Regions from separate parts of the Homo sapiens genome. Here region 2 is linked to region 1. Evidence: promoter capture Hi-C in 16 types of primary human blood cells and fetal thymus (Javierre and others, 2016). All regions are on one chromosome and are shown on one strand. Each heading gives the region's core, a stretch centred on a gene start or on the middle of the fragment in contact. The rest is flanking DNA. Distances are from core to core; before and after follow the strand shown.

What was found. The method cuts DNA at HindIII sites, captures the fragments that hold promoters and counts their contacts. A CHiCAGO score of 5 or more calls a contact.
Region 2: a contact is called between a fragment that was not itself captured here and the fragment with the promoter of EGOT in region 1, in 12 of 17 cell types (activated CD4 T cells, endothelial precursors, M2 macrophages and 9 more). The highest score is 15.4, in activated CD4 T cells.

Annotation. Positions count from the first base shown.
Region 1 is chr3:4,749,828-4,753,531 of GRCh38, reverse strand. It overlaps EGOT (eosinophil granule ontogeny transcript), which reads left to right and starts at 1,942. Exons shown (of 2, transcript NR_004428.1): 1 at 1,942-2,586; 2 at 3,522-3,704. The region is part of intron 44 of ITPR1 (inositol 1,4,5-trisphosphate receptor type 1); the gene reads right to left. The HindIII fragment of the contact is 1,839 bases long and covers 930-2,768 here.
Region 2 is chr3:4,900,053-4,903,743 of GRCh38, reverse strand. BHLHE40-AS1 (BHLHE40 antisense RNA 1) reads left to right here. Exons shown (of 3, transcript NR_125916.1): 2 at 3,047-3,203. Among named protein-coding and RNA genes, the nearest start is that of BHLHE40, 78 kb to the left of the region's middle. The HindIII fragment of the contact is 3,580 bases long and covers 1-3,099 here.

The DNA of each region.
Region 1 (3,704 bases), core at 693-3,192:
TGCATCCCCATCTTGCTGTGTGCTGGCCCACCAGGTAACTTCCACACGGCCACAGAGAGCATCCCTGGCAGCTGACAGTAAGATGTACAGATGGCCAAGCGGTTAGAGCAGGGCAGGGTGAAATCACACAGCACTCATCTGGGTAAAGCTGCTTTGTATATTAGGGCTTTGGCGGCGGCAGCGCATATCCAAGCAGGGGACAGGCCCAAGCCAACTTGGTGCCCTTTAGAAGCACCGACTAGGGATCGGCGGGAACCACAGAGATCACCTCATCCAGCCCCGACTTGATGACAAGCCCATCACCCTGGTGGAGCAGATACTTTCCGCAGCTCTGCCCCTGACCGACCACCATGGGGTAGACCGCGTTAGCTTCCTTCACTCAGCTCCTCCAACATCCCAAGCACAAGCCAACCCTCTTCTGAAATACTCTTGCCCTCTGCTACTCTTCACACAGCTCCTTCTCTTCGCATCTGTTGGGTCTCAGCTTGAACGGTATCTCCCCAGAGAAGCCCTCCCTGGCCACGCTTCGTGGCGCCTGTTTGCTTCCCCATCACACTTCTCTGAAGCTCTGATTTAGCTGATGATGAGCTGATTTCCTAGCTCTGTCTCCCACAAGACTGTAAGCTCCTGGAGGGCAGGGGCTATGTTGGTCTCATCCCTGACTGTATTGACGCCAATGTGTATAGCACCTGACACCCAGGGAGTGCTCAGTAAGTAAACATCTGCTATATTAAGCCGGCTGTGGTGACACAAGCCAGTAGTTCTAGCTACTCCGGAGGCTGAGACAGAAAGATCTCTTCAGCCCAGGAGTTCAAGGCCAGCTTGGTCAACACAGTAAGGCCTCTTCTCTCTTTTTAAAAAATTTACTATATTAATGAATGAACAATAATCCTGAAGGAGGTGCAATTCCGAAACACTCAAGCCAAGCTTTGCATCCATGGCAGCTGAAGTATAACTTTATGGCCAGAAGAAGCCTGCATGTGAAAGCTCAAAGTCCTGCTAAGTGGGAATATGCAGCACACCGCAGACCAGCCAAAGGCAGCTGATGTGGTGTTGTCACCTCTACGGGCTTATCCGGTTTTTGCACGTAACTCTGTGATGGGCTCAGCCTGGCTGAGGATCCTTAATCCATCGAGTTAACTGTTAACTACCCCGGCCCCAGTGACACAGCAGCTTGCATGATTAACTACAGCCCGGGAGGGATGATCATTTGTGCACCTTCCGTCTCCAAACCTGGCTCCCTCCCCAGACTTGATAGCTACAAGCTCTGGGCTCAACAGTTTGTGGGTTTGTGTTGCAAGGAGGCTAATAAAAACATATTTCTCAAATACCATATGGTGAGGGCAACTGCAACACATCCTCCTCGAAGAGCAATAAAATATATATATTTTTAAAGTCCTGAATTCCAGGGGAAAAACGAGGCTTGAAGACTTCAGAGGGTTTACAGGACTATCCCCTTCAGTGTCAGAGCCATCTTGATCAAAAGTCTAAAACCCAGGAATAGGAAATTGGTAGAAACTTTGAGAGAGCCTCTGACAGTTTCAAAGAGGAACTCAGAGGACCTCAGGAAATGTGAGCGGGCATAGATTTCTCCGTGAAAAGGAGGGTCAAGGCAGAAGAACCAGAGGCAACTGTGAACATCAAGTCAGTTCTCAGGGAAGCAGGGGATCCAAGTGTGTACATGAGGCGCCTTCACTGTCCCTGCATCAGGAATCTAGCTGTTGGCACCTTATAATGAGAAAACAGTCTCAACCATGAAGTTAACTCTGCTGGAAGATTTCCAAAGGGAAAGTCCCTCCCGTTACTCAGAGGGGAAAAAAAAATTACCTACTTGGTCTGGAATCCGGGGATATTTTATGCAGATGTCTCTAACAGAAGTTAATAAAGGGAAGTCAGCTTGCCTCTGATTATTCAAACAGGCTACTGCTATTAAGGATTGCACAACTTCTGGGCAAGGCAGAGGTGGGTTTGGCTTTTTAAAAATTTTTTCAGCCTGTCCTCATGGAACTACATATTCTTTTCTAAGAACTTTTCATCCTAACCTCCCTACTCACATCTTCTAAGTGTCTCTGCTCTGGTGGGAATGTGATGGACAACACAGAGCCATCTCAGAAGCCTCTGTGGCCACCACCAGGCCGGCCAGGGTGCAGGGGGCCACTCCCTGGGCAGCCATAGGGTTCTCAGCAAGGTGCATTCGTCGTCCCTGCTGAGAATCTGATGGGGCAGCATTTTTTTTTTTAATTAAATGCAAGCTGAGTCATTTCAACCTGCAACCTTCAGGTAACAGGAGTTACCCAAGCTCCAGGAATTATGATTGTGGGGTAAACCCATTCTCTTGTTTTCTTGCGGTTCTATTTTATAACGCACTAGAGGAGACAGAGACGTCATTGCTTCACCCAGGGCAAGAGGACAAAGGAGGATGCATGGAAATACAAACAGCCCTTCTCCTCCAGGCCATACCGACTGTCCAACTAGCAACAGACTTCACCTGGTTTTGGAGCAATCTGAATTTGGAATATGCCAGAGAAAACTTCTATCAGGCAAGATGGAAGACTCCTAGGATAGGTCTCTCTCATGGAGGGATTGGTAATAAAAAAATCATGGGAAAAGAAATAAGGGAGGGTGGAAAAAACACACCTTAGAAAACAACTTCTGATGTCCCGGGGCTACACAATGGGGGAGCTGAGCACTTAGGAAGGAGAGGGAAAATATTCTGTTTCCGGAGACAGCTCCAAGAATCATGAGTAGGTGTGAGAAACAAGGAAGCTTACAGATTTAAAAAAAAAAAGAAAGAAAGAAAGGAAGGGGGCAAAAGGAAGGAGTCAGGGAAGGGGGGAGTGAGATCTTTGAGAGACAGGGGAATTAAAAAACACCATAGCAACAACGCAGTCCACCTACCCTGGCCGCCCACCCACAGCCAGATTCTTTACTGACGCATTTGAGAACAAGCTGGTTCCTACCAGCTCAGGAAGGTGAGCAAACCCAGAGAGCTCATTAAATCCCTTCTCAGCGACTCTTGTCTGCCTGCAGATAGTGAGCAAGGAGGATATAAATAGAAGTTATATAACATCTCTTTGTTGATTCCTGTGCTTACCAAAAAAAAATGCAGCATGACCTTGTTTTTCTTTAGAGTTTGCCTCGGCCTGCTGGTTGAGGACTTTAATCCAGATAGGAATCATCTTGAAGTTTAAACAGCAGGATATAGATTTCCAAGTTAAGGGTGCTCTGCATGGCCATCCAAGTTAGGAACCCACAGGGTCAAGTCCTCCTCCGCGGATTAAAAAAAAAAAAATCCACCAGCTCTAAAACAACAACAGCAGGTATGGAATCTTGTGGCTTCCTCTTAGAACATCTCCTGAGGTAAATTAAGGAGTAAATTTGATACCCAAGAGCAAAGCATCATTAAAATGGCATCTTGGGTTTTCTAAAGGAGGTTCGAGCACCACAGGTATATTCAAAGGTAACTGGTGGTTTCCACATACCCTCCAGGCCTAAGCAGTTGTCTTTTTGTTCCTTAACAGGCACGATGGTAAGAGTCCAGTGGATGGAAAAGGCCTCCTCCTTAAAGATGGTGATGGAAACGAGCACTGCACAGGGAAACACAAATCAGGTCCCCTGAAATCCAGCCCAACCTGGCCAGACCCTCCAGTGCCCATCAGGGCTTATGAACAGGGTGCTTCAGTGTCTTTGTTAGGGGTGGTTAA
Region 2 (3,691 bases), core at 60-2,559, 150 kb before region 1:
CCTCTTACTTGCAGAAGGTTAAAAGAATGCTTGCTAGCTGGTGGGTGTGGGGATGAATGCTTATAGTACCAGCTACTCAGGAGGCTAAGGTAGGAGGATTGCTTGAGCCCAGAAACTTGAGGCCAGCCTGGGCAACATAGTGAGAAAGTGTCTACTTTTTTTTCCAAAAGACTGGAAGGAAGAGAAGACTCTTCTGTAGACATACAAACCTTGCAGCAGAAATTCTATCGATACTATTATTTTTATCTACCTACCTATTACCTAGCTAATATCTGTATATCAATTATCTGTTATTATCTATTTTCTACCTGTTATTATTATTGTTTATTACCCTATTATCCAAGAATAAAGTTTTTATCCTGTAATTGTCCCATTTACCCATGGCCAATTGACAAGGACCAAAGACTTTATCACAGAGATAACAGAAGAAACACTGAAGTGGTAGCCAGCAACCACTTATGAAATTGCCAATATTTGATGTCATTTTAACTAAATAAGCAGCAATTTCATATGATTCAGCCTAATAGACCTTGAATCCAGATACATCCAGGCAAAGGATTCAAAACCAAATCAAACAGTCTATTTTCTACTGTTTCTTCTCACTTATTTCCAAAATGTGAAACAACCATATAGTAAAAAACAATAGAATAGGAAATAGTGATTCACCAGAGCTGTTGGAAGTTTAGAAAGTATTGATATAATTAATTCAATACAATTTCAGTTGGTTGCTTTTCCATTTTCAAAAGCCATTTTAGATGTAGGAAATGACATTTTCTAAATATAAAATATAAGTAAATATCACATTATTTTTTAAAAAAAATTATAGCTATTTCTAGCATGAAAGCCCATTCTCTCTCTCTCTCTCTCTCTCTCTCTCTCTCTCTCTCTCTCTCTCTCTGTTGTTAAGACAGGGTCTCACTCTGTCACCCAGGCTGGAGTGCAGTGGCCCGATCATAGCCCACTGCAGCCTTAATCACCTGGGCTCAAGAGATCCTCCCACCTCAGAGTTGCAGGTAGCTGGGACCACAAGCCTGTGCCACCACATCTGGCTATTTTTTCTTTTTTAATTTGTTGTAGAGACAGGATCTCACTATGTTGCTCAGCCTGGTCCTTTGTCTCTAAATGGGATACAGATATTTGAACAGTTTATCGTAGATCAGCTTTACTTTTACAGGACAAGGTTATTTTTAAATAAAATTCTCTACTGCCTTAGACTGTATATTCTTGTTATGTGTTAAATATCTCTATTTTTGAAGAGAATTTTAACAAGATAATTTTATACCTCCTTCTCGCTGTTTTCTGCTTCCTTAATTGGTCACCTAGCTAATGGAGCTTTCTATTTGAAACATTGCAGCTTCCCTGTCAAGGGGACGGAGTCAACATGCTGTAATTATAGCTGTCTTCGAGGGTTGGATTATTATTCTGTCTCTCTGACTTTCATATAAACAGAGCAGCTACCCATTGTAGTGTATGTGCACTGTTCACCCAAACAGAGTAAACTCAGCCTGCTAACGACATGACGTGCCCTCCAACACACAATTACATTTCACGGCAGTTCAGAGGTTTTCCAATGTAACATCTGTAATACAATTTTCCCTGCCAAAGTTTTACAAATCGCACATTCTGGCAAATGATCAGCGATACCGAATCAACACTATTATTCACAGCTGGATCTCCTCAGGAAAATAAGTTGGAATATTAAGCTGAAGTTTTCTGAAAAGCTCCCATGGTACCTTTGCTGAAGAGATGTTAAACCAAACAGCTCCTGATATGGAAACAGCGGTTTGAACTGTAACTCAGTTAGATAACTTAATAGGGGAAGGCTATGATGTCATGATGCAGGAAATGACTAAACTTTTTTTTTTTTTTGAGACCGAGTCTCGCTCTGTCACCAGGCTGGAGTGCAGTGGTGCCATCTTGGCTCACTGCAACCTCCAACTCCCTGGTTCAAGTGATTCTTCTGCCTCAATCTCCCGAGTAGCTGGGATTACAGGGACGCGCCACCACGCCCAGCTAATTTTTGTATTTTTAGTAGAGACAGGGTTTCACCATGTTGGCCAGGATGGTCTTGATTTCCTGACCTTGTGATCTGCCCGCCTCAGAAAGTGCTGGGATTATAGGCATGAGCCACCACGAAATGACTAAATATTGCTTTGCAGTATTCCTGGATTTAGGGAGGGGGTGTGAATGGCATTGTGTGGGCACTGATGGTAACCCAGGTCAGTGAGACTTTAAAGGGACCATTACTTTGTCCTTCTTTCTGGAGTTTCAGGCATTAAAAATGTTAACTTGTGGCTGGGCATGGTGGCTCATGCCTGTAATACCAGAACTTTGGGAGGCCAAGGCAGGAGGATCACTTGAGCCTGGGAGTTCAAGACAAAGCCTGGGCATCATGGTGAAACCCTGTCTCTACAAAAAATACAAAAATTATCCAGGAGTGGTGGCATGCACCCCTGTAGTCCCAGCTGAGAGGTGGGAAGATCCCTTGAGCCTAGAAGGTTGAGCTACGGTGAGCCATGTTGCTGCCACTGCACATCAGCCTGGGTGACAGAGCAAGACCCAGTCTCAAATAATAAAATAAAATAAAGTGTTAACTTGTCCAAGATCCTGTTTCACAGCAGTCATTGATGAGACAAATGAAACATTTTGGGACACCTTAAAAAAATCCCATCAGTGTGGCAGAGCTAGTTTTATTATCCCACTTCCTAAAAAGCCATGAGACCTCATCAGCCATGGAAGAATCTATGTAAAGCTGAAGGAATTTGGCCCTTTAATGATGCACAAAGACGTATGCATGGATTTTGCAAGTTCCTACTTTCACCTTTATAAATGCTGGGTTTCATCCATGTTTTAATTGACTGGAGTTTTAAACAAAATAAATACAGATACCATAGTGTGTAATTTTAGAGATTTTTTTAAGTACAAAAATGTATTTGGGCCCCAAAATGTATTTGGACTATGTGCTGCAATTGATCTTTCACCATATGAGAAATCCAGGCCCCAGCTGATTTTTTGGAGTTAAGAATGATTTTTTACATTTTTAAAGGGTTGCAGAAAAGGAAGAAGAATCAGCAGAGAGCATTTGTGGCCAGCAAAGCTTAAAATATTTCCTAACCGATCCTTTGCAAAAAAAGTTCACCCACTCCTGTAGTCAGCAGCTCCCCTACTGTGCGCAGTCAGTGTGCCATCTCAGACTAGCAAAGGTGAGTAAAACCATCCCTGCCCCTAATCAATTTACAATCTGCATCCTCAGGGCAAGAGCCTAGTAAGCAAAAGGCAAAATAAGATGGCGCCAGATAAGGGCTTCAAAGGAAGAGAGACCAGGTTTGGTGGGGAAATAGGGGGTGGCTTCTTAGCAGGTTTTCTTTAGATGAACCTTGAAGATAAAAAGAGATTTTGATGAATAAGGGTGGGTGAGATGCAGAGGGGGTCAGCGCTGTGTCCTGGAACCAGTGAGTGATTCCATTTCAGAAGCACCCGGGGAGGCTAAAGGGTAGATTCTAAGGCCAGAAAGAGAGGAGAAGGTCGTAGGCTGGAGACCATGATGAGGAGTGTATACAGAGGGAGAGAGGAGAGATTCCTGCACTTAGAGGCCAAAAGGACAACAATTTGCACTTTTACTTTGGTGTCGGAAAGAACCGTAGTCTCATATGGTTACACGGAAGTGTTTTATGATAATCAGTGAAAAATG